Regions from separate parts of the Homo sapiens genome. Here all the other regions are linked to region 4. Evidence: promoter capture Hi-C in human tissues and cell types (Jung and others, 2019). All regions are on one chromosome and are shown on one strand. The core of a region is centred on a gene start or on the middle of the fragment in contact, and the rest is flanking DNA. Distances in the headings are between cores, read along the strand shown.

Region 1 (6,219 bases), core at 1,595-4,094, 120 kb after region 4:
GTGCCATCTCGGCTCACTGCAACCTCTGCCTCCCAGGTTCAAGCGATTCTCCTGCCTCAGCCTCCCGAGTAGCTGGGATTACAGGTGCATGCCACCATGCCTGGCTCATTTTTTGTATTTTTAGTAGAGATGGGGCTTCACCATGTTAGCCAGGATGGTCTCAATCTCTTGACCTCATGATCTGCCCACGTTGGCCTCCCAAAGCTCTGGGATTACAGGCGTGAGCCACGGTGCCCGGCCAATTTCTTGATTCTTAAAGCATTTACACAAATAAAAACTCATGTTGATTTTCACCAGCTTACCCCCACCTTGGAATCCAAGCTCTCAAATTCACCTTAACATCTCTCCTCTTAGAGTGACAGTTACACCATTGGTAGGGTACTTGAGTAAATACATTTTGTCATCTTCATTCAATGATCTGTGTAACCATTAAAATAAAAGAACAAGACAGTTCCATAGGTAGTGATAGGAAATGATATGAAAGGTATCTATCTCTATGTGAAAAGGAAAGCAAGGCACAGAGTGGTGTGTATATTTAGTATGCTAACGTGGGGAGAAATACTAAAAGTAGACGCACACACATGTATGTATAATTGAATCTGCTTAGAATATTTATGAAAGGATACACAAAATCTGGTCACTATTAGGGTCTTTGGTGAGGGGAATGAAGTGGTTGAGGGATGAGTGAGTGTGGGAGGGACTTTTTACTATAAATCCTCTAGCATCTTTTAGTTTTATTTATTTATTTATTTTTGAGACGGAGTCTCACTCTGTCACCCAGGCTGAAGTGCAGTGGCACAATCTCAGCTCACTGCAACCTCTGCCTCCCAGGTTCTAGCAATTCTCCTGCCTCAGCCTCCCAAGTAGCTGGGACTACAGGGGCGTGCCACCACACTTGGCTAATTTTTTTTTTTTTTTTTGTATTTTTAGAAGAGACGGGGTTTCACCATATTGGCCAGGCTGGTCTCAAACTCCTGACCTCATGATCTGCCCGCCTCAGCCTCCCAAAGTGCTGGGATTACTGGCAAATTAATTCTTTTCCTATAATAGATATGATAGAGAATGAGATAGGGCAGGAGGGAGAGGTTATGCTCCTTGTTAAAATTAAAAAGCATATCCCTTAAGAATTCACTTAATTCTGTCCTCTCTGCTACCTAAGAGGATGTCAAAATCATTAGTGCAGGTGTTAAATGACTCAAAATGATGAGAAAATGTAGCTTCCTTGGCTCAGGAGCAGGGTGCCTCCAGCCCTATAGCTTCAAACTGTGTTTTCCAGTCTGCACTTTGCAGAACAGTTGCCTGGCTGTCCCCTCTCCATCCTCCCTCCAAAAGTCCGATCAACCTCATGTTCCTCCAGTGGCCGGTCTTGTCCTGTTGATCTTGACCTTCGTTCATTTGGTCCCCCTTGGGCACAGTTTTCTGCTCCACTCACTGACAGGATAATCTGACTAGTCTTTTTCCATATTTGGAAAAACTCTACTTACCTTCTGGTAGATGTATTTCTTCAAAGGATGTCAACTCTTGGACTATCAGAAGTCCCCTTTACTATAGGCAAATCCTCTCTTCTTTGTCCAATTTCAGAAAGATTCAGAAATGCTGAAGTCTTGTCCTGATGGCAGGTCATGGGACTGTGAATGTTTATCACAAACCAGAATGGTCTTTTTATGTGAGCTCATCAATACTATGATCGTACCATCTGACATTCAAGACGAAGCATCTTCACTGACTTGTCACTGAGGTATTGTAGACACTTGCAGATCAAACCAGGTTTCTCAACCATGGCACTATTGCCATTTTGAGCCTAGTAATTCTTTGTTGGAGGAGACTGTTCTGTGCCTTGTAGGATGTTTAGCAACATCCCTGGCCTCTACCCATCAGATGCCAATAGCATCTCCCATGCTGTGCCAATCAGAAATGTCTCCAGATGTTGCCAAATGACCCCAGGAGGACAAAAATCACCCCTGGTTGAGAACCAATACCTTAAGTTATGCCCTCTCTGTGAGGCTACAACTGGAATATTATGCCTGCTTCTCTGAAAAACAGACTCTGTTTGTCTACACTTACATAACACTTCTGTGACCACATGTGTGGGGGGATTTTCTCCACACACCAAGCAGTTCCCCAACTCTCTGAACACCAGGTGTATGTCTTGCAATTTATTCTGACACTGTATACCTGGAGTTGGTGTCAGATCCCGCAGGTTAAGGGCTCAGTCCTACAAGACTGCCCCTACTTAAGATGTCAATTGCAAATCCAGCCTTCTGGTATTTCTCAACAACCAGCTATAAATTAGGGGTCCCACAACTCCCCTCCTCAGGTTTGATAATTTGCTAAAATGGCTCGAAGAACTCAGGGAAACACTTTAGTTGTATTTATCAGTTAGGATATTATAAAGGATACAAATGAACAGCCAGATGAAAAGAGTAAACTTAGGGCAAAGTATGATGATGTTTATTATTTATCTTCACCATTAGAAGTAAGTTCTGTGGCTGGGTGTGGTGGTTAACACCTGCAATCCCAGCACTTTGGGAGGCCAAAGCAGGAGGATTGCTTGAGCCGAGGAGTTCAAGACCAGCTTGGGAAACATAGTGAGACACCATCTCTACAAAAAATTTAGAAATAAAATTAGCCAGGCATGGGGGTGCATGCCTGTAGTTCTAGCTGCTCGGGAAGCTGAGGCAGGAGGATTGCTTGGGCTTAGGAGCTCGAGGCTTCAGTGAGCTATGATTGCAACACTGTGCTCTAGCCTGGGAGATAGGGCCAGACCTTGTATCAAAAAACAAAACAAAACAAACAAAAAAAACAGAAAAAAAGGAAAGAAGAAGAAAAGAGAAAAGAAAAATGTTCTATGAGAGCAGTGTCTAGTTTTGTTTATCACTGGTTTGGTGCCTGCCCTCCATAAATATTGGATTAGTAAATGAATTATAAGTGGAAACGCTCTATGTGTTAACACCAGGAGGCTCTGGGCTGGGTGTAGTTCAGTCACTTTCTTTTTGAAGAACTACCTTTGTAGCTACGTAGACTGGAAGACCTGAGAAGGTGCTAGTGGTTCTTACCTTGTTTTTGTTCTGTCTGTGTGTACTGGCTGGTCTTAGTTCAGAAAGGAGAGAGCTCTTTGATATTTAGCCTGGGGAACGGATCATGCTAAACTCCTATCACAGCTTGTCTCTCCCTCCCTGTAACATAAAATGTAGCATTTAAAAGTGTACAGTGGTTTTAACAGTTAGTCTATTTACCACCATTATCTAGTTCCAGAACGTTTCCATCATCCCCAAAGGGAACCCCATACCCATTAAGCAGTCCTTCCCTATTTTACTCACCCCTGCAGCCCTGTGACAAGCACTAATCTACTTTCTGTCTCTGTGAATTTGCTTATTCTGGATATTTCATTAAATAGATTTATATAATATGTGTCCTTTTGTGTCTAGGTTATTTCACTTAGCATGATGTCTTCAAGATTCATCTGTGTTGTACCATGCAGCATTCCCTTTTTCATGGCTGCATAATGTTCCATTTTATGGATATACCACATTTTGTCTGTCCATTTATTCATTGGTGGACATTTGAGTTGTTCCCACCTTTTGGCCTTTGTGAATAGTGTTGCTCTTCACATTTGTGTACCTCTTTTTTGAACATCTGTTTTCAGTTACTTTGGATATATACCCAGGAGTGGAATTGCTGTGCCATGTGATAATTCTGCTTAACTTATTGAGATACTAAGTACACCTTCACAGTGCTGCACCAGTTTAAACATCTACTAGTAATGCATGAAGGTTTATGCTCACCAATCCTTATTTTTTTTTTGCTTTGTTAAGCATTAATATTATTATAGCCATCTTAGTGAGTGTAAAGTGAGGTCTTGATTGGGGTTTTCCTAATGACTAATGAGGTTAATTATCTTTTCATGTGCTCTTTGGCCATCTATCTTTTTTGGAGTGTGTCTTTATTTTCATGCTTACTCTTTCTGGGTTATAATTGCATGTGAACACTTTTCTGTCTCTTTTTTGACCATAGCTGCCTCATTTCTTTTTTTTTTTTTTTTTTTTTGGAGATGGAGTTTCACTCTTGTGGCCCAGGCTGGAGTGCAGTGGCACAATCTCGGCTCACTGCAACCTCTGCCTCCCGGGTTCAAGCCATTCTGCTGCCTCAGCCTCCCAAGTAGCTGGAATTACAGGCATGCACCACCACACCCAGTTAATTTTTATGTTATTAGTAGAGACGGGCTTTCACCATGTTGGCCAGGTCGGTCTCGAACTCCTGACCTCAGGTGATCCACCCGCCTCGGCCTCTGCCTCATGTAAAGTGCTGGGATTACAGGTGTGAGCCACCACGCCCAGCCACTGCCTCATTTTTAAAATAAGGCTAATACACTCCTTAAGAGACATATTATTTTTGGAAATTAAGGCATTGCTCAAATCTTTGTTAACATCATTTTAAATTTTTCTCATTTTTCCTTCTTGCCATCCTACCTCATTTTAAAATGCAGCATGTAAGCCTTAGGCTTATTTCCCAAAGTGGCAAATATAATTCAGTTCTCGTTTTCTGAATTTTGACATCTCTAAGTCTAACCCATCATGGTGCACTATGAATTTCTATGTTTAAACCTATTTTAAAGTTAGCTTGTTTCATAGTTAATATAATACCTTGGCAAGTATTTGACTTTTTGCTATTTTAGATTCAACAGATGAATATGGAAAGTAGCTTTCATTACAGCATTTGCTTTCTTTTCAGAAAAAGTTGCCTTTGACAACACTGGCTCAGTGTCTGATGGAGGGGTCAGCTATCCTGGGAGATGACACACTTCTTGGGTAAGGTGACACCTTGCGTGAGTTTGGTGCCAAATCTAAGTAAGTCCCCATCCGTGAAAAGGGGACTAGACCCTCTCAGGGAAGCACCTGAATTCTCACTGGGGACTTTAGTGGAAAAAAGGAAAATGTTACCAGTAGGAAATCAGAACTCTTGGCTCTAAAGTCATATTGTCTGTGCGGTGAGGCAAGGCCCAAGTGGAGAGATTAACATGAAACTGATGAAGGACAATTGAAATCCCTAGGGCCCTAGCAGAAGCAAATATGAAACCTGTCAATTCAAATGTCAGAACTTACGAGATTCTCAGAAAAGCAGCCTTTGCCGATGTTGAGCTCACAACAAAACAAACTGAAAATAGAATCGTCATGAGAGAGCATCAGCAGACACAATCAGTAGAAGAGTCAGTACCCTGAGAACGAAAAATAATAGAACTATATGGAAGAAAATATAACAATTATTTAAATGGAAATTTTAAAATTAAAAAACAGAATCCTTGACAAGAGAATCAAACAATATTAAAAAAGAATAGGCGGGATTGAAGGCAAACCAAAGAGAACTTTCCAAAATTATGCTGAAAATTTTCAATGATCTTTAGTCAAAAGAAACTCAAGATTATACACAAATAAATAATTGCTGAACTTGAAAACAGATGTAGAGCCGCCACCCAGAATGAAGGGAATGAAGTGCAGAGATAAGGAGGTAGGCATTCTTAAACTGAGAAACATGGGTGATAGAATGCAAAAGCTTAACATTCCATCTAGTGGGAATTCCTGAGGAAGAAAATAGGGAGAAAGGTAAGTTTGTGGTTGAATTTTTCTTTTCCAGATTTAAAGAAAAACATGTCTTTGGATTTAAGGAGCACAAAATGATTTGATTGAGATCAACAAGAAAAAAATGCATCCCTGGACATATTGTAGTAAGACCACAGATTATCAACAAAAAATAGAAAAATGTAAAATTGACCAGAGGGAAAAAAGATCATTACTATAAAATAGCAATTAAACTGTTAACAAACTATGTATTCGTCAGCCACAATGAATGCCAGAAGATAATGGAGTAATATCTTCAAGTATTGAGCGAAAATGTAAGAAACCTAGTATTCTATGATAAAATAGGGAAGAGTAAGGATATTTTCAGGCAGATTTGAAGAAGATACTACCTGCATATTCTCACTGAAAGGACTAGTTAAGGCTACATGAAATAGATTACATCTCTTTCACAGAAACAGAAGAAAGATGAGAAGTACAAGTACCAAGGTAGGAAAAAGATTGTGTTGTAGGGGAGGAAACTTTTTTTTTTTTTTTTTTCCTCTCTCTAAACATCTTAGGTTCTTTGGTTGGGCCCTGAAAGTTAGATTGACAAAAGGTAGATTAACAGGAGAAAAGCAAATAAATTTTATTAAAATGTGTAGTA
Region 2 (6,495 bases), core at 1,252-3,751, 70 kb after region 4:
CCAAAACCTCAATTTCCCCATCAATAATATGATGTTATTAATAGTCCTGACCTCAGGGGTTGTTGTGAAAGTTAAATGAATGTCGAGCTTTAACAATCTGATGCTTAGTGAAAGCTTAATGTTTGTTTTGGTGCTTTCTAATGAATAAAGACCCTGATCATGATAATGCATTCTTGTTGCTCTTTCTGTGTATCCCTGTCCTTTCCCACATTTTGAGATTTACTTTCTGTAGTTTGTATTCTGAAAATAATATGTCATTAGAAGTATAATGAACATACTTTTTTCAAGCAAAATTTCTCTCTTCCCACCTCTTGCCACATTTTAGATATATATAAATTGCCTCAGCACTTTAAACCTCAATGACATGTTGCTAATTAGTGCAAAGCCATTAATCATCATACAGACCTCTGTTCCAAGTCCCTGGCAATCCACTTTCATCTCCTTCTCCTGGGTGCTTGTTCATGTGCAAGGATCTGGTTAAATCCTTCCTGCTTAGGCCGAAGTGGCTGATGAGGTCTGCGTTAGTTCATTTTCTGTTGCTTTAACTGAACACCACAGACTGGGTATTTTATAAAGAATAAAGAGGGTAATTTATAAAGAATAGAGGTTGATTTAGCTCATGGTTCTGGAGGCTGGGAAGTCTAAGAGCATGGAACTAGCATCTGGTGAGGCCCTTCATGCTGTGTCATAACATGGCAGAGGGTGTTACATGCAAGAGAGCAAGAGTGTGCATGTCAGCTCAAGACACTCTTCCTCATCTTATAAAGCCACCAGTCCTATCATGGGAGCCCCATCCTGATGACCTTATCTAGTCCTAATTATCTCCCAAAGGCCCCACCTCCAATCAACATAATGAATTTGGGAATTAAGTTTCCAGCACATGAAAGTTGGGGAAGAAAAAGATGGCCTTCCCATGCAGTTGTCCTGGTGAAGTTATTCTATTATGGTAGAATAGCTTGGAGCTAGATGTCTTTTATAGGAAATGACTAGTGACCGTATTTTCCATAACAGGATACCCCAACCACCACAAACTTTATTGCTTCGGTTGCCCATGTTATTTATTTATTTATTTATTTATTTATTTATTTATTTATTTATTTATATCCTGCCCCATTCCAAAGGGGACTTGCAGATTTAGTTAGCAGATATCACTAGGTGTTGCTAAAGATTATGTCTGATTTGGGACAAGATCTGCTTTTGGGGACTTGGATCACTAATAAGCTAGACCACCTTAGCCACTATTAGTGGCTTGAGGATTGGCTGCCACTAATCCTGCTCATCCCCTTACCACTGATACTCTTGTGCAAGGAACCCAGTAGGTTCTTGTATATGTATATTTTGAGATACCAGCATTTACTCGCAGTTGGAAGGAAGAACAGGACTAAGTCTTATGCCAAGTCTGTAGTAAGCCTTTGGCTACGTATTAGTCCATAGTGTGTGGGCACAGAAATCCTGTGAATGGAAAGTTCCAACCACGTCTGCTATTCTGAAGACACCCAGGTCAGCCAAATATGGGAACTGTGTATATAGCAACCCCATCTCCTTCCCTTTCTTTACCTACCCTGCCCTCTGTTAGTCATGTGGACTCTAAAATCCTCCAACCACACCCCTACTCACTGTCACCTCAGTTACCTGGGATGGATGATTAAGAAAGTCTGCAGATTACTGGCTGCAGTTGTGACCACATTGGCTTGGATCTTGCAGGTGTGCAAGGATTCTTTTGTATCTGTAAGCATGAGGTCAGACTAAATCAACCTTCTCAGGCCCTTTTCAAAAAGTTTAAGTCCACAGCCTTATCTGGGCATTTTGGGTTTTACCTTGAAAGTAGCAAAAGGGGGCAAATTAGGATAAACTAAAGAAAAATAACTCCCAGGGATAGGAAGCTCTTACAGGTTTGTGGGCTGAATTGTATCTCCCCTAGAAGATGTTGAGGACCTAATCCCCCAGTATCTGTGGATGTGAGCTTATTTGGAAACAAGGTCTGTGCAGATGACTAAATTGAGATGAGGCCATTAGAGTGGGCCTTTGTATTAGTACATTTTCATGCTGCTTATAAAGACATACCCAAGACTGGATAATTTATAAAGAAAAAGAGGTTTAGTGGACTCACAGTTCCACATGGCTGGGGAGGCCTCACAGTCATGGTGGAAGGTGAAAGGCACGTCTTACATGGTGGCAGGCAAGAGAGAATGAGAGCCAAGTGAAAGGGGAAACCCCTTATAAACCATCAGATCTCATGAGACTTACTACCACGAGAACAGTATAGGGAAAACTGCCCCCCATGATTCAATTCTCTCCCACTGGGTCCCTCCCACAGTGAATGGGAATTATGGGAGCTACAATTCAAGATGAGATTTGGGTGGGGACACAGCCAGACCATATCAGCTTTAATCCAATATGACTGTGGATCCTTATAAAAATGGGATATTTGGACACAGAGACAGACATGTGCTGTGAGAAGATGACGTGACAACATAAGGAGAATGCCATCTACGAGCCAAGGAATGCTTGCAGCCACCACGAGCTAGGCGAGAGGCCTGGGACAGATTCTCCCTCACAGCCCTTGGAAGAACCAACCCTGCTGACACCTTGAATGTAGACTTCTGGGCTGCCAAACTGTGTGGCAATAAATTTCTGTTATTTAAGCCACCTAGCATGTGGTACTTCATTATGGCAGCCATAGGGAACTAATACAGGAGCCTTTTATAAGTCCTAGATCTGCCCCCTTTTTCCTGGCATGAACCCGTTTCTCCATCAGTCAGTGTGAAAAGCCATCTTCTCATCATCACTTAAGATTTCGAGTTTGCTTTACTGCCCACATTTTGGTTTGGCGCTGGGGCCTAAAGATTGTTTCCTGACTCTTCTGTTATTCTCTCTTAATATTTCCTGAGATGTCTCATTGTTATTCTTGTTGAGTCATATCTGCCATCTTTTGCTGTTCTATAAATGTACCCAGGACTTGTTTGGAGCAGGTATAATACACACAGATGCAAAAACGATTGCCAGGAAGGAAGAAGTGTTTTATTACATTCGCAGTCGCCAAGAAACAGTAAGCACATGAGCCCATTCAGGGCCACACGGGAAAGCACCAAAGCCACATGAGCAGGCACGGAAAGAGGGAGCTGCACGCATTAGCCTTGATTGCAGTTAACACCGAAAGGAGTGGGCAAAGCAAAGTCAACACGTGGCAGAAGTTCACTGTCAAGCTTAAATCTCTGTGGTTCATGAAAAAAAAATTTACTATGAAGCAGGCTCTGGGCTATAGGGGTGGTCCCTAGTTGTACCTGGCTCCGTGGAGATTAGGGCAGAAGAACTGCCTAGCAGAAAAGCAGACTCCTGGAGGGCTGGACTCCAAGTAGTTGGTTGGCATATCAAAGGCATGCCCACAAGTGAGTTACTTGTTACCTCTAGGAATTAATTAATCCTGGGAGGGGCAGTTTCTTTGGTCCACAGACTCCAAATGCCACAGCATCAAGAATATAGAAAGTAGGAAAATATAATTAATACATTGACATTATCCAGCTGTTCAGTTTTATATAGCTATTCTTCCCTCCCCACTTCAATTTATACTTTAAAGAATTCCTTATAAGGTCAACAAGGCTCCTGACAATAGCATTTGCGATATACCCTCTTGTCTCTTGTCAGATAACTGTCTGGAAAGTGCAGGCTTGTTATATAGCACCCTCTATCCATGGATTTTGGCTGTTCCATTTATTGGTGTTTCCTCTTTCTTCAAAAGCTGTGACCTTCAGAGGGAAGCAAAGTTGGAATGTCATCAGTAGCCTAAGTTTTATCTCCAGCATTTCCAGTGCTAGGCAACATGGTGAAGCTCTATCTCTACAATATCTACAGATACATCTATTGATATATCCAGGGTTTTTTCTGGCCCTCTCATTTGTCCTCATATAGATTGGATATCTTTTTTATTTTCCTGCTTATTTTCCATTCCCCATTTCTCTGGTTATAGCCCCTGGTTTTCTTCAAGGAGCTATCCCTTCCCTACTCTTGAGCCGTGTGGTGTAAGTGGGACTAACTTCACCCTTTGATTCAGGGAAGGGATGTGACTTGGGTCTAGCCAAAATCATTGATTCACGCAGAGCAGGTGAATCAAATTGGACCAATCGGTATATGGTTTTTTTCTATTCTTTTTTTTTTTTTTTTTTTTTTTGAGACAAGGTCTTGCTCTGTCACTCTTGGTGCAGTGGTATGATCTCAACTCACTGCAACCTCCACCTCCAGGGTTCAAGTGATTCTTGTGCCTCAGCCTCCTAAGTACCTGGGACTACAGGTACGCACCACCATGCCCAGCTAACTTTTGTATTTTTGTAGAGATGGAGTTTCACCATGTTGGCCAGGCTGGTCTCGAACTCCTGGACTCAAATGATCTGCCCACCTCGCCCTCCCAAAGTGTTGGGGTTACAGGCGTGAGCCACTGCACCTGGCTAATTTTTGTATGTTTATAGAGGTGGAGTTCCGCCATGTTGGCCGGGGTGGTCTCAAACTCCTGAGCTCAAGCGATCTGCCTACCTTGGCCTCCCAAAGGGGTGGGGTTACAGGCGTGAGCCACCGTGTGCCTGGCCATGGTATATTGTTTTTCTATTCCTGCTATGATAAATTATCACAAACTTAGTGACTTTAAAACAACACAAATTTATCATCTTACAGTTCTGGAGGTCAGAAGTCTGGCACAGGTCTTAACTGGGCTAAAATCAAGATGGCAGCAGGATGTTGCTGCTCTCTGGAGGCTCTAGGGGAGAATTAGTTTCCCTGACTTCTCAGGTTTCTCTGGAGGCAGCCCACTTTGTTTGCCTTGTGGCCCCTTCCGCCGTCTTCAAAGCCAGTAGCACTGGGTTGTGCTGTCCTCATACCACATCGCTCTGATCCTTCTTTGGTCACATCTCCCTCTGAATTCCTCTTCTGCCTCCTCTTCCACTTTTTTTTTTTTTTGAGATGGAATCTTGCTCAGTCGCTGGAGTGCAGTGGCGCAATCTCGGCTCACTGCAACCTCCGCCTCCTGGGTTCAAGCGATTCTCCTGCCTCAGCCTCCCGAGTAGCTGGGACTACAGGTACCCACCACCACGCCTGGCTAGTTTTTGTATTTTTAGTAGAGACAGGGTTTTGCCATGTTGGCCAGGCTGGTCTTGAACTCCTGGCCCCAAATGATCCACTCGCCTCAGCTTCCCAAAGTGCTGGGATTACAGTAGTAAGCCACTGTGGCTGGCCTTCCTCTTCCACTATTAAGGACCCATGGGTGACACTGGACCCACCTGGATCATCTGCAGACTCTGCTTATCTCAGTGTCTATCTGAACCATCTTCAAAGTCTCCTTTGCCATGTAAGGTAACATATTCAGGGTGCTGGGAATTAGGATGTGGACTTTTGGGAGGCGGGGCATTATTTTGTCTACTACAGTCAGTGAGATTCAACTCTGGGACCTTGGCTGGGTCCCTTGGGATTCCTGAGCAGATGGGCTTTCAACCTGAAGCTGCTGTCAGCCACCTTGGATCTGTGAGGGGAGAGTCTGCCAAAGAATGGAGTCAACCTTAAGAAAAACAGACCTGAGAGACACGGGGAGCAAGACCATGTCTCAGTGTTGTCCTTAGGGCCACTAAGGCCAACTCTACCCTTGCACGTTTTAGTCATTGAGTCAATCAATTGACTGCCACCATCATTACATGTGTCCTCCTCCTGAGTTGGTAACGCAGGCACAACATAAATGAATTCCTCCTTCATTGTCCTTTGGAGCATAGGGGGCAGCCTTTTATCAAAAACATCTGCATTGATGACCCACAGACAGAGTGTCATGGTGGCACATTGTTCCAGTACTGGAAATTCTGCTTCTTTCTTTCCCAGGGATCATAATCTTTCAGGTTCTTACCAGGTCTTTCATCTGTGAAATGATGGGGTTGGATGTACAGAGTGTTCTTGGTATCTACATATGAATGTTCATTATACTTGCACGGGATGGCTGAGCTGGTAGAATCCTTTTTAAGATGATTGGGGCCAGGTGCAGTGGCTCAGGCCTATAATCCCAGTACTTTGGGAGGCTGAGGTGGCAGGATCACTTGAAGCCAGGAGTTCGAGACCAGCCTGGACAACATAGTGAGATCCTGTCTCTATAAAAATACAGTTTAAAAAAATGAGCTGGGAGTGGTGGTATACACCTGTAGTTCCAGCTACTCAGAAGGCTGAGGTGGGAGATTGAGGCTGCAGTGAGCCATGATTGTGCCACTGCACTCCAGCCTGGGCCACAGAGTGAGACCCTGTCTATTAAAAAAATAAAATAAAAAAAAAGGCCGAGCACAATGTCTCATGGCTATAATCCCAGCACTTTGGGAGGCTGAGGCAGGAGGGTCGCTTGGGCCCAGGAGTTTGAGACCAGCCTGGGCAACAAAGTGAGACCTCGTCTCTGTGAAAATAAATAAATAAATAAAATTAAAATAATTTTAAAAAATTAAAAAAATTTTTTTAAAGGTTATTGCACCTAATTTCCTT
Region 3 (6,346 bases), core at 2,891-5,390, 110 kb before region 4:
GAGAAAATAATCAGTCAGCATATGAAATATACTCAACTCACTAGCGTTCAAGAAAATGCAAAGTGAAAGATCTAGATACTATTTTTTAAAAACTTCAAATTAGCAAAATTTTAAAATGTTGATAATATCGAGTATTGAATAGGCATGAAGACATAGATACACCTATCGTGTTGGTGAGCTATCCATACTGTAAAGTCTTAACAGATACAATTTTATCACAGTTTATAATGCCTAACCTAAAAAAGATGGAAACAGCATAAACATCATCTGTAAGGGAACGATTCATTAAATTACAATATATTCACAGTATAGAATACAATAAAACACAATGCAAAGCAAAAAGAAATGATAAAATTCTATATGAACTGATGTGAAAAGATCTCCAAAACGTAGAATTAATTTTTTAAAATTCAGGTTATAAAACAATCCGGCAACATATTTTCATTTATGTTTTTTAAAAAGTATTGGCCAGGCACGGTGGCTCACACCTGTAATCCCAGCAATTTGGGAGGCCGAGATGGGTGGATCACGAGGTCAGGGGATCGAGACCATCCTGGCTAACAGGGTGAAAACCCGTCCCTACTAAAAATACAAAAAATTAGCCTGGCACTGGTGGCGCAAGCCTGTAGTCCCAGCTACCTGGAAGGCTGAGGCAGGAGAATCGCTTGAACCCAGGAGGCGGAGGTTGCAGTGAGACGAGATCACGCCACTGCACTCCAGCCTGGGTGACAGAGCAAGACTCCGTCTCAATCAATCAATCAATCAATCAATCATATTTATATATAAGTACACAGAAAAAAGAAGTTTCAAAGATATAAGTAGAACTGTTCATTATGGTATCCATGGGTACAGAGAGCAAGACCTTATCTTTCCTTTACCATTTGCATCTTTTAAAATAAAACTGTATTCGTATCTACATAATTTTTAAATACGCCTAAAACATAAGAAGAAATTGACATCCTAATAGTGGTGGGGAAAAAAAAACGTATCTGTAAGTCTTTAATAAAGTAGGCAAAGATTTAAGTGAAGATTTAGAGGACGTGGACACTAAATAAAATTTGATTACATATTTTAATCCTCTTACTTGATATAGAATACAATTTTAGACTTAGCACCCTCCCCCTGCGCGCGCACGCACACACACACACACACACACACACACACACACACACACACACACACAGAAATGTCTTGACCATAAGACAGTAAAAAAAGAAATTTCTTTTAAAAGTTAAAAAACTTTAATCCCAACAAGTTGAGAATCAAAACATACCAAAAGTGCTAAAGCACATGCATGGAAAAAAGCCTGGAGGGATCCATTCCCAAAATGATTAGCTCTGGGTGGTGAGATTATCAGTAATTTTTAAATTTTCTTATGTTCTTTCTTATATTCTTGATTACAATTATCCAGTATCTCCTATACTGAGTATTATTTGCCTTTTTTTTTAAGATATGGAGTGATGGGGAGTGGGTTAACAATACCATATTTGCATAGCAGCTAAATCAGGAGTTGGCTGAGGCCATGGGAGGTTTAAGTTGTTCTCAAATTCTCATTAATCCTGGGTCATGCTCACAACTCAAAATACAACCAATGAAACTTGCTTCTTAGCTAAGAGACTGAAAACCCACAACTCTGCTATTAATTTTTGTTGGAAAATCTCAATGTATATGTGGTATAGGTATGCCATCTGGCTGACTTGGCTTCAAATCCTGGCCTCCATCCTTATTGATTGTATGATATGAACTCGAGTGCATGCTTTTAAGCTCTCAACCCTCTACTTTTCTATGTGTAAATGTGGAAACAAGAATGCCTCCTTCATTGGAAATTTTTGAGGTTTTAGTGGAAAAGCATATAAAAAGTGCTTGACATAGTGCAGGGATGTGCTGATGTACTCAATAAATGGTAGCTATCTTATTCACACATGAATATTAATTATACTTTAATTCACACTATGCAGCCATAAAAAAGAACGAGATCATGTCCTTTGCAGGGACATGGTTGGAGCTGGAGGCCATTATCTTTAGCAAACTAATGCAAGAACAGAAAACCAGATACCACATGTTCTCACTTACAAGTGGGAGCTCAGTGATGAGAACACATGGACCCATAGAGGGGAGCAACACATACTGGGGCCTGTCGGAGGGTGGAGGATGGGAGGAGGGAGTGGATCAGGAAAAATAACTAATGGGTATTAGGCTTAATACCTGAGTGATGAAATAATCTGTACAACAAACCCCCATGACACGCGTTTACCTGGGTAACAAACCTGCACATCCTGCACATGTGCCCCTAAACTTAAAAATTAAAAAAAAACTTATAGGCCGGGCACAGTGGCTCACGCCTGTAATCCCAGCACTTTGGGAGGCCAAGATGGGCGGATCACGAGGTCAGGAGATCGAGACCAACCTGGCTAACACAGTGAAACCCCATCTCTACTAAAAATACAAAAAATTAGCCGGGCATGGTGGCGGGCACCTGTAGTCCCAGCTACTAGGGAAGCTGAGGCAGGAGAATGGTGTGAACCCAGGAGGCTGAGCTTGCAGTGAGCCGAGATCACGCCACTGTACTCCAGCCTGGGCGACAGAGTGAGACTCTGTCTCAAAAAAAAAAAAGTGTATATTAATTCTCATATCAATGTTTATATCAATATGCTTTGATATGTTAATTTACAATTATTTATGTTATTATAAGATATCATATTGATTCTAAATTCACAATGACCAGCCTCTCATGAATTTCTCTTAAGATTCACTGCCCAGCTATTATCATTTCTCTTTCTTTTTTGTTTTTTTTTTTTTTTGAGGTGGAGTCTCACTCTGTCCCCAGGCTGGAGTGCAGTGGCAACATCTTGGCTCACTGCAACCTCCGCCTCCCAGGTTCTAGCGATTCTCCTGCCTCAGCCTCTCGAGTAGCTGGGACTGCAGGCGTGCACCACCACGCCCAGCTAATTTTTGTATTTTTAGTAGAGATGGGGTTTCACCATGTTGGCCTGGATGGTCTCGATCTCCTGACCTCGTGATTTGCCCGCCTCAGCCTCCCAAAGTGCTGGGATTACAGGTGTGAGCCACCGCGCCCAGCCTATCATTTCTTTTTACCCCAGATTGTGCTTGAGAGTTATGAAGATAATTATTGTCATTATATAACTTATATTGTATTTTGCAAAGTGTTTTATATATCTATCATCACTTATTCTTTTCCTTTCAAAAAAAAAAAACTGAAAAGGCATAATAATTAAACTTATTCTCCGGTGAGGTGTGGTTTTTATTCTGGATCTGGTCTTTTGATGCCTCTGAAGACAGTGCCAAGCCTTGTCTGGGTCTCAGCAAGATCATTACATGCTATGAGGACCAGCAAAGGCTCATGGCTGAGCCCAGATCCTCTTCTCTTATAATTGAGAATGCTGTTCTGTCTAAATATAAAACCAAAGAGAGAGAGAGAGAGAAAACAAAGTTTTGAGGATAGACAGCTGGAGGCAGTCTGCCAAATTATAGCACCTCTTATTTCTTTGATGTATTCAACTCTCTCCCCCACCAAAAAAGATCATATTCATTAATATTTTTATTTTTTTGTTTTCTTCTTATTATTATTTATTATTATTATTTGAGATGGAGTCTCACTCTGTCACCCAGGCTGGAGTGCAGTGGCGCGATCTCGGCTCACTGCAAGCTCCACCTTCCGAGTTCATGGCATTCTCCTGCCTCAGCCTCTGAAGTAGCTGGGACTGTAGGCACCTGCCACCACACCTGGCTAATTTTTTGTATTTTTTTAGTAGAGATGGGGTTTCAGTGTGTTAGCCGGGATGGTCTCAATCTCCTGACCTCGTGATATTTTTCTACCAATTCTGTGAGATTACAAGTTTGATTGTACAGATGAGGTTACTGAGTTTCCAGAAACATTAAGAAATTGGCTCAAGGTCACCCAGCAGATTCAGACCTAGAACTCTCGTCTCGGGGCTTGCAAAACCAAATTTACCACATGGTCCCCCAGAGAAATGCGCAGCCCAAGGGAACATGGTCTTTTCAGATAGGCAGATGCCTGGCATTTAACCTATTTCCTCTCTCAACCTAACAGTCCGTCTGCTTAAAGCTTTTTTTTTAATTTAATTTTTTATTTTAACATGGTAGCCATCTGCACTGGCTTCAAGATTGAAAGAATTAGATGAGAAGGGGAGATGGAAATTCAGCAAATGTAACTCAGGATTGGCTGGGAGAGGAGGACAGAATGAGGCATAGGGATAGCAAAGGAATCCCTGGCTTAGTAGAAATGCAGCCTTCACAAAGGATTGTGTTCTTAACACATAGATTAGAGCATGACACTACAGAATGTCCCAGAGACAGAAAGTATTCTCAAGCATCATGTTTGGTTGTTTCAAAACCTTGTGTCTAACAGTAGAGCCAGGATTATTTTCTAACATTTAAAGAATGGTTAATATACCTACATTTATATATATGTATATGCATATGTTTGTATATGATATATAACATATATATAGTATGAGAGAGGTAAAGATTATCTTTGAGGATGCTCTTTGCAGTGGTATATGTGCTACAGTAACACCGAGGGAAAAACTGGAGTTGGTTAACAAAAAGAAAATATTTAAATACATAAAAAATGGGATTTAACATGCACTTTAAATATCGTGTTTTCAGAGGATCATGAGATGCAAAGATGTTTACAATGCAAGAAGGAGGTTTCAGAATTGCATATGATATAGTCCCAATTCTTGAGAAATTGTAGGGTAGGTACCTTTTTATATCCATGTTCAGGTATATGAATCAGAAGAAAAAAGGCAAAGTATTAGCAGGTGCTGCTTATCTCTGCAGACTTGAATTCCTATTAATTTTGCCTTTCATCCTGAAACTTTTATACATTTTTCAAATTTTCTATAATGAACACGCACTTGTTTTATAGTCAGAAAAGGCAATACATGCTTTAAATGCTATAATAGAATAGTATATATCACAAGCTTCACTTAGGCTCTCAAAAGAACGTAAACCTGTATTCAAGAACCACAGCCCCATGGAATGAAGACTCTCCTCTTAATTTTAGAAGAACTTCTTTGCCTCATAAAATACACCCTTTCTTCCAAACTCTAATTCTCCTTTATATCTAATTTTTATTCAGCTACTTAGTGGATGCCCACGGTTAACCTCATTAATCTTCGTATGGTAATTTATTAGGGATAAAGGGCTCTTAATTTGACCACTATAATTACCCTAGAGGTGAGTATAATGACGTCTGTCTTACAGGGATGGGAAACTAAGGTATAGAAACGGGAATGACCTGCCCGAATTTACACATACAGCATGGTGAAGCACTTGAACTCAGATCTCCTGGCACCCAATCTTGTGGCCTCTCTCGATGAACAAGCGAACACAAGAAGGCGTAAATCTGAGTCCCTTTGTCTCAGGCATCTCTGCAGCAATAGCTTTCAAGGAACGCAGGTCAAATGGCAGGTCCTTTTCCCGGAGGCCCCTCCCACCGGCCCCGGGCGTGTGTGCGCGCTGTCTGCTTAATTCACTCATGGCTCTGTGCCACAGAATACATAAACAAGTGGGGAAAGCCTCAGAGAGGAATCTTGGTGCCCAAATGGAGCAATTTGTCTTCTGAAATTATTGTTTGAAATTGTTTATGTCAGTTGCCGAGTTTCTGTTCTGTACTTCAGGGACCTGTTTGTGATGGAAGGAAAAGTTCCCCGCGGCTGAACAGCCGTGCTAGTTGAACACTTGTAGTGACAGTGTTGTCAGCTGCTTCCCAGTCCTCCCTGACTTGGAGAGGGTTTTGATGAGGTTCCCTACACCCCAATAGAGCACCCCAAGAACTATCTGATGCTCACATGCCTGCTGCGTGTGCTAACTAATTTAATCCTTACAGCAATCCTGTAAGGAGGTACTGTTGTTACAGTCCTCCCATCCATAGAAGAAGAAACCAAGCCTCCAGCGCTGAAGGAGCTATCTCAAAATCCCATGCCTTGTAAATGGAAAAGCTGGGACTTGATCTCATGCACCTTTGGATTCTAAGTCCATGCTTGTGACTGCTACCCTGTACTGCTTCGCACAAGTATCCGAACCAGTCAGAGCTGGCTTGAGCCATCTGACTTTGCCACCCCATCCTCCCGGTGAGCATGTGAATTGTGGATTCTGCCCTCTTAGTGACATCGTAAGGCATTTCCACTTGAGGTTTTTCTTCCCTATTCCTCTAGTGTCTTGAGTTATTTTAACATGAAAGCCTCAAGCTCACAAACCTGGCAGCTTTGTGAGTGAGAGAGAATTCCTTTTGAGGCATGAATTAGTCTTCTTCAAATGTTTTGACAAACTGAGAGTGTGGTGCTTAGGGAAAGAATAG
Region 4 (6,654 bases), core at 1,238-3,737:
CCATGGTGGTTTGCTGCACCCATTAACCCATCATCTATATTAGGTATTTCTCCTAATGCTATCCCTCCCCTTGCCCCTACCCGCGACAGGCCCCGGTGTGTGATGTTCCCCTCCCTGTGTCCATGTTTTCTCTTTGTTCAACCCCCACTTATGAGTGAGAACATGCGGTGTTTGGTTTTCTGTTCCTGTGTTAGTTTGCTGAGAATGATGGTTTACAGCTTCATCCATGTCCCTGCAAAGGACATGAACTCATCCTTTTTAATGGCTGTATCCATGTCCCTGCAAAGGACATGAACTCACCCTTTTTTATGGCTGCATGGTATTCCATGGTGAAAATGTGCCACATTTTTTTTTATCCAGTCTATCATTGATGGGCATTAGGATTGTTTCCAAGTCTTTGCTATTGTGAACAGTGCCACAATAAACATACATGTGCATGTGTCTTTATAGCAGAATGATTTATAATCCTTTGGGTATATACCCAGTAATGGGATTGCTGGGTCAAATGGTATTTCTAGTTCTAGATCCTTGAAGAATTGCCACACTGTTTTCCACAATGGTTGAAGTAATTTACAATCCCACCAACAGTGCAAAAGTGAGGAACCAAATTTTGAACTTTAATTAACTTAAATTGCAACAACCACATGTGGCTAGGGGATACTATATTCAACAGTGCAGTTCTGGAAGTTACCAGAGATAGTGTTGCTAAAAGTCATACAGTGACCTTAATGTCTTACCGTTTATACACATAAAAAGCATGTTGTACTTTGCTTTTTAAAAAATCTCAAAATGGAAATAATTTCACTTAATATAGACATCATATTGACATTATAGGTACAGCATAGTTGGTTAAAAGCAAATAATGCCTTCATTTATTCACTGGCTGGAGTTGTCTGACCTAATAAGCAGAGGCTAAATTCACAATTAATTAAAGATTTCATGTTCATTCAGCCAAGACATGCCTCAAACCACTTTTTGTTCAGCTAGCCAGCAAGATACTTAGAGCCATATTTAGGACATCTTGCAACTATAATCAACATATGCAAAATATCCTATTTCAAAGAAGATCCTTCCTTTATAAGATTAGTAATTCTGTTGTATGAACAGGATTTTTCTCTATTATGCTAAATATAATCATTTTGTAGTAAATGAATACGGCAATGTACTATATGAAAATTTATATGTAATTTGATTATTGTAATTTAACAAATAGTTCTCTTACTGAAGATCAGGCAGCATATTTTTCTATTTAGGGATGAGGAAACAGAGGTTTGGAGAGGTTAAGCTGTTTTCCTAAGGTTATATAACAGGTATGTGGAATTCTGATGCAGGAACTCCTATCTGTTTAATCCAAAGTGCCTCACACCCAACAATACTGCTTTTACTTGATATATAATGATAAAACCTTGATATATAATGATAAAACCTAACTGCAATCACCAATCTTTTTCTTTTTTTTCTTTTCTTTTTTTTTTGTTTTTTGAGATGGAGTCTAGCTCTGTCACCCAGGCTGGCGTGCAATGGCGCGATCTCCACTCACTGCAACCTCCACCTCCCAGGTTCAAGCTATTCTCCTGCCTCAGCCTCCCAAGTAGCTGGGATTACAGGTGCCCGCCACCACGCCCAGCTAATTTTTGTATTTTTAGCAGAGACAGGGTTTCACTGTGTTGGCCAGGCTGGTGTCGAACTCCTGACCTCGTGATCCACCCTCCTTGGCCTCCCAAACTGTTGGGATTACAAGCGTGAGCCACCGCGCCCGGCTCACCTATCTTTTTCTAAGGATAGAGACCAAAGAAGCCACAACCCCTTCCAAGGAGTCAACTGACGCCAATGGGATGCTGTGGTGCAGGACACTTGGGGGGTGCTGCAGCTGATGCCCCTTGGTCTCCTGGTGGTGGAAGGGAAATGGGACTAGATACGAGATTGGCATCTAAGCCATACAAAAAAGCTGTCTCAGACAGGTTGGGCCAGTAAGCACAACGTCACTTATCTATATTGGCTTCTGGTTACCTAATGGGTTTGGTTTGGTAAAAATTAAGAATCAGACTTCTGGGATGCAAGCTATGCCTGTTCAAAATCTGCTGTCAGCCCCTGTGTTTCAAGCTTAACCTTGAACCTCATCATTAATCAGGTGACCTTAGACCGTTTTATCAGCCACGTATCTGCTAGCATAAATCTCCCTTCTGTGAATTCAGAACACTGATACCTCACATTCACTAAAAATACAATGAGAGACAGATGCTCACTTTCTTTATTTGCTGTTGTATTCTTGGTCCCACTTTGCCATTTTTAAAACAGGAAAACGTTTCCCTTACTCGAACGCTAAAGTGCAAAGCTGCTGGTGACGCTGCCTTCTCCCACCTCCGCACTCCACTGTCCTTGCAAACTTTGGACAGAGGAAAGGTGGGCACGGGGCGCGAAACTACAAGTCCCGGCATGCACGGCGTTCTCCGCACAGGCGCACGGGGACCGCCGGGCCAGCCGGCCAGCCAGCCTGCGGAGACTCCCGGGTCCCCGCGCCGGACTGGGACTGGGAGCAGGCAGCCCGGGCGGAGCGGGCCGGTGCCGAGGACGGCCCCAGGCATTGCTCTGCCCCGGGCATTGCGCGGCGCGCGTGAGGGGGATGCGGCAGGAGGCGGCGCGGCGGGAGGAGTAGGCGGCGGCGCCCTCGGGAGGGAGCTGCGCGCGGGCCAGACGGCGCCCGGAGGCTCCGCAGTGCCGCCGCCGTCGCCCGGGAGGCTCCGCGCGGGAGCCATGTAACCCTGCGGCGGGCTCCGGGCTGCTCCGTCCTTCCCCAGCTCCCGGGCTAGCGCGGCAGCGGGGCCACGATGAAGAAGCAGTTCAATCGCATGCGCCAGCTGGCCAACCAGACGGTGGGCAGGTAGGTCACCCGCGGGCACCGCTGTCGGTGCGCGCCCGCGAGGCTGCATCCGCAGGGGCGCGCAGGTGATGGAGCCCGCCCAGCCTCCAGTCCTCCTTGCCTCAGTCCTTTCCCCTGCACCAGCTCCCTCCAGGCGCCGCTCGCAGGCGCGACCCCTCCTCCCTAACTTCCCAGACCCCGGAGCTCTTCTCACTCGCCGCCTTCTGCTCCGGGCTCCGGTTGCCAAGCGCAAAGTGTGACGCATCCTTTACCTGCGTCCCCGGCTGCCCCTTCGCTTCGTCCTCCCTGCCTTTCCCCGGGACTCCCTTCTCCCTCTGGCCGCCTGTCTTCCTGGAAACAGGTGTTTGCTCTGATTGTGCTGGAGGCAGCCGAACCGCAGTCGGTCTCCGGAGATCTCTTCCCTCCCCTCCCCTGCGCCGAGTTCAGGGCTGCTCCCGGGTCCAGGGAAAGTGCTGGGCCTGGTCGGCCTGCCCCTCCCGCCGTGTTTGTTTTCAGGGACTATGACTGTACGAGATTCTGGATCACTTTCCTGGCCGGGTTTCTTAAGGCGTTTGGTGGGGGGAAAGGGTGAGGGGTGGGAGAGGAAGGAAGGTGCTGGTGGAATGGCGTTGCTGCCTGCTTGATGTTAGGACTGATTTCAGTGGAGGGAGGGAGGCTGCAAAAAGGAGGCCCAAGTCCTCGGGAAGATGAGATAAGCAGAGAATCGCAGCCAGGTAGGGGAGGGGGACAGAGGCCCCACAGTCAGAAGAGTCAGGCCCCGGGAAGCTGCAAGACCCCGCCTGCTGCCATCACGGTGAAAATGGGCTACATCTGGACTCCAGGAGCGGCTCTGCAGGGTGCCAACATCTATTAAGGTTACATAAAAATCCTGGTGGGTCGCTCCCAAGACTAGACATTCTTTGAACACAGGAGCGTTAGGTAGAAGGGATTTTTCCTGGAACCCCTACTCCTGGGGAGGGATTTCCGTTGCTGCTGTGGCAAAGGAATTCAGGTGTGCTGTTCTAAAGCAATCAGAAAGCAAAGAATCCAGCCTTGGGTGCAGTTCAAATGCAAGCTCAACACCTCGAGGGCTCTCCACTAGGTTTACGGAGAAACCGAATACCTTTCTTGGGTGGGAAGTGGAGCCTGAACTGGCATCTGGTAGGATGGGGGTGGGGACATCCCTGGGGAATAGGGGACATCTGAACTCCCGTCTGAGCATACTGCCCTAGTTACAGTGGGCATTTGAGGGCAGGGGATGCGGTGGCTTCTTATGCTTCCAGGGACTCCAGATGGTTTCCAAGTAACAATGTCTAAAATTGACTTGGATTCATTTTTCCTTCCCAAACACATGTGCTTTAACATGAGGGGGAATTTATGAATAGCAGAGTCAGATTAGCCCAGATTTCTGGCATGGTATTGCCACAGATATAGCCTCACGTGGACTGCCTTTTGATGTGTTGGATGCCGAGATAGTGTTTCCTGGTATTCGTTGTTTAGCAGATGACAGTCAAGCCGACCCGTCTTTAATGTCTTGGCTTCTTCGTCACCCTGCAGGCGGGCATTGGCCATCACCTCAGACCAGCCAAGTGACCAGGAGGCCCCTGACACTAGACTTGGGTTGCTGGTTTCTCTTGGTCTTGGGGTTTCAGTGCCGTGCTAGAATCTAAATGTTCAGAACATGTTTATGCCTCCTCCCTGGCCTTCCTGAAACACAATTCTTCTTTTTTTCAGGACCTGTTTTTAAATGGGGGAGATTTTTGCGCCATGGCATCATATCTTATTTTTCAGCCTCATCCATGGGGGGAATGCAAAATGGTGAGGGGAGGTTGGATTTCAGAAAAAGTGGTCTTAGGTATTGAGAGCACGTTCTTGGAAGTCCAAGCAGCTGGTTACCAAGAGGTTCTTTCCTCTTCTTTGTTGGGGCTCTGGTGGATGTTGGCCTATGGATGAATTCTGCCTTTCTCCGTTGGTAGCCATTGTGTTGTGCACTGGGCCAGGTGAGGGCCAGCCTGTATCGCTTTTGATGAAATCCAGAGCAAGCCTTTTAAAGCAAAAACCAGTTCATGTTACCTTGCTGCTGAAAAGCTTCCAGCGACATCTGATTGTGCTTAGCATCTCATATCTTGCCAGGGTTCTACAGGACCATCCTTGGTTGGCCTTTTTTCTTAACTCTTTTTCTCCCCATTCTCATCTCTTCACATTCATGGAGCTCTAGCCGTGTGGCCTTTCTTGCCCCAAACACACTGAGCTCATATCCACCTTGAGGATTTCGTTTTTACTGTTTTCCCATTTTTTTTGTTTTTTGCTTGGCTGAGAATGTGCTCCTTCCAAGTAGCTTTTTCTCATCATTTCAGTCTTGGTTCCAAGGCCTTCAAGAGGCCCTTCCTCCCCTATTTACCTCCAGCTCATCATTTTTTCATTTCTGGACAGCACTCATCACTGATTGAAACGCTTTTATTTTTTATTTTCTTGTCTGTCTGCTTCCAGCAGAATCTATTGATTGCTGTTGTATGCCTGTGTAGATAGTGCAATGCCGTTTAGACTACTGACTCTCAATCGGTGTTGATTGCCGAGATTAAAACGGTTTACCCCAGGGTCCGTGAGGGTCAGCGAGAGGGGCAGTATCTCCTCTATTATTGAGAATGTTTTGGGTCATGATCCTATGAGTATTGGAGTAAAAGAGCCCGCGGTTGCCTGTTAATTTCTTAAATCAGTAGAAGCACATAGGATTGGAATTTGGACTTTAGGTGTGCAGTTATAAAGCACTTGATTTTTATCCTTATATTTTTCTAAAGTTTTCCTCTTTCCGAGGGAGGACTAAGAGGACTTGAAAGTCCTTCCTCATGGCTCGCCTTCCCTAAGTTGCAGGTTCTGGAGTTCTGAATATAAAACTTAAAGTCATTTTAACAATGTAGGAGTTGCCCTACTTAAACATACTCTGCTGGGTTACTAGTACTTTCTCTCGAAGTGCTCACATCCAAGTCATATTAAGGGCGTCAGCGACTATGAAAAGATTTGATAAAACCCATTGTATTTAACTGACAAAAGTTTCAGCCCCTCCTTGGTCTGTTTCCTTAGTCTGCACGTGTTCCTTCTGCTTTGAACTTTCCCCTTTCTGTCCCTTCACTTCAATCCGTCCTTTGGGAAGCACTCCCTGGCCACTGTGTGCCTCATGGTTAGGAGCACAGGCTTTCCACTGGGACAGGTTTAGTTTGTTGCTGACTATGGAATCCAGAGCTTAATTCTCTGCACATTAATTTTCTTACTTGCAAAATGGGAGTAGTTAAGGATTGCACTGTGGTAATGTGGTAACCACAGTGATAACATAGATAACCTGTGAAAAGTACCTAGCAGTGCTCAGCACTAGGAAATGCTTAATAAATGGTAGCTACAAGTATCTCTGGGCAAATGTTATGACTGTTATTGAATTATATGCACTATGGCATATGTACCTTTATTAGATGTCTACTGTGTCCCAGACACTGCTCTGGTTCAGGGAGTATTGCAGTACAGGGCAAACAAAATTCCTGTTTGCCTGGAACCTGCATTCTAGGCCGGGCGTGGTGGCTCACGCCTGTAGTCCCAGCACTTTGGGAGGCCAAGGAGGGTGGATCACCTGAGGTCAGGAGTTCGAGACCAGCCTGGCCAACATGGCGAAACCCCGTCTCTACTAAAAATACAAAAATTAGCTGGGCATGGTGGCGGGCGCCTGTAATCCCAGCTACTGGGGAGTCTGAGGCGGGAGAATCGCTTGAACCCGGGAGGTGGAGGTTGCAGTGAGCCAAGCTTGC

The links. The method cuts DNA at HindIII sites, captures the fragments that hold promoters and counts their contacts. A contact is called where the count stands out against the background at its distance.
Region 1: a contact is called between a fragment that was not itself captured here and the fragment with the promoter of ARHGAP44 in region 4, in 2 of the 25 tissues and cell types used here (heart left ventricle and spleen).
Region 2: a fragment that was not itself captured here is called in contact with the fragment with the promoter of ARHGAP44 in region 4 in 4 of the 25 tissues and cell types used here (dorsolateral prefrontal cortex, lymphoblastoid cells, spleen and 1 more).
Region 3: a contact is called between a fragment that was not itself captured here and the fragment with the promoter of ARHGAP44 in region 4, in 2 of the 25 tissues and cell types used here (aorta and dorsolateral prefrontal cortex).

What each region holds. Positions count from the first base shown.
Region 1 is chr17:12,904,166-12,910,384 of GRCh38, forward strand. It overlaps ARHGAP44 (Rho GTPase activating protein 44), which reads left to right. Exons shown (of 21, transcript NM_014859.6): 4 at 4,732-4,808. Among named protein-coding and RNA genes, the nearest start is that of MIR1269B, 10 kb to the right of the region's middle. The HindIII fragment of the contact is 7,296 bases long and covers 1-6,219 here.
Region 2 is chr17:12,856,712-12,863,206 of GRCh38, forward strand. The region is part of intron 1 of ARHGAP44 (Rho GTPase activating protein 44); the gene reads left to right. Among named protein-coding and RNA genes, the nearest start is that of MIR1269B, 57 kb to the right of the region's middle. RefSeq lists an enhancer at 2,961-3,300. The HindIII fragment of the contact is 5,749 bases long and covers 1-5,376 here.
Region 3 is chr17:12,675,111-12,681,456 of GRCh38, forward strand. All of the region lies in intron 1 of MYOCD (myocardin), which reads left to right. All of the region lies in intron 2 of MYOCD-AS1 (MYOCD antisense RNA 1), which reads right to left. Among named protein-coding and RNA genes, the nearest start is that of MYOCD, 12 kb to the left of the region's middle. The HindIII fragment of the contact is 4,406 bases long and covers 1,938-6,343 here.
Region 4 is chr17:12,787,011-12,793,664 of GRCh38, forward strand. ARHGAP44 (Rho GTPase activating protein 44) reads left to right here and starts at 2,488. Exons shown (of 21, transcript NM_014859.6): 1 at 2,488-2,881. The coding sequence starts at 2,829. It overlaps ARHGAP44-AS1 (ARHGAP44 and MYOCD antisense RNA 1), which reads right to left and starts at 3,274. Exons shown (of 2, transcript NR_104607.1): 1 at 3,133-3,274. RefSeq lists a silencer at 2,415-2,764. The HindIII fragment of the contact is 5,339 bases long and covers 460-5,798 here.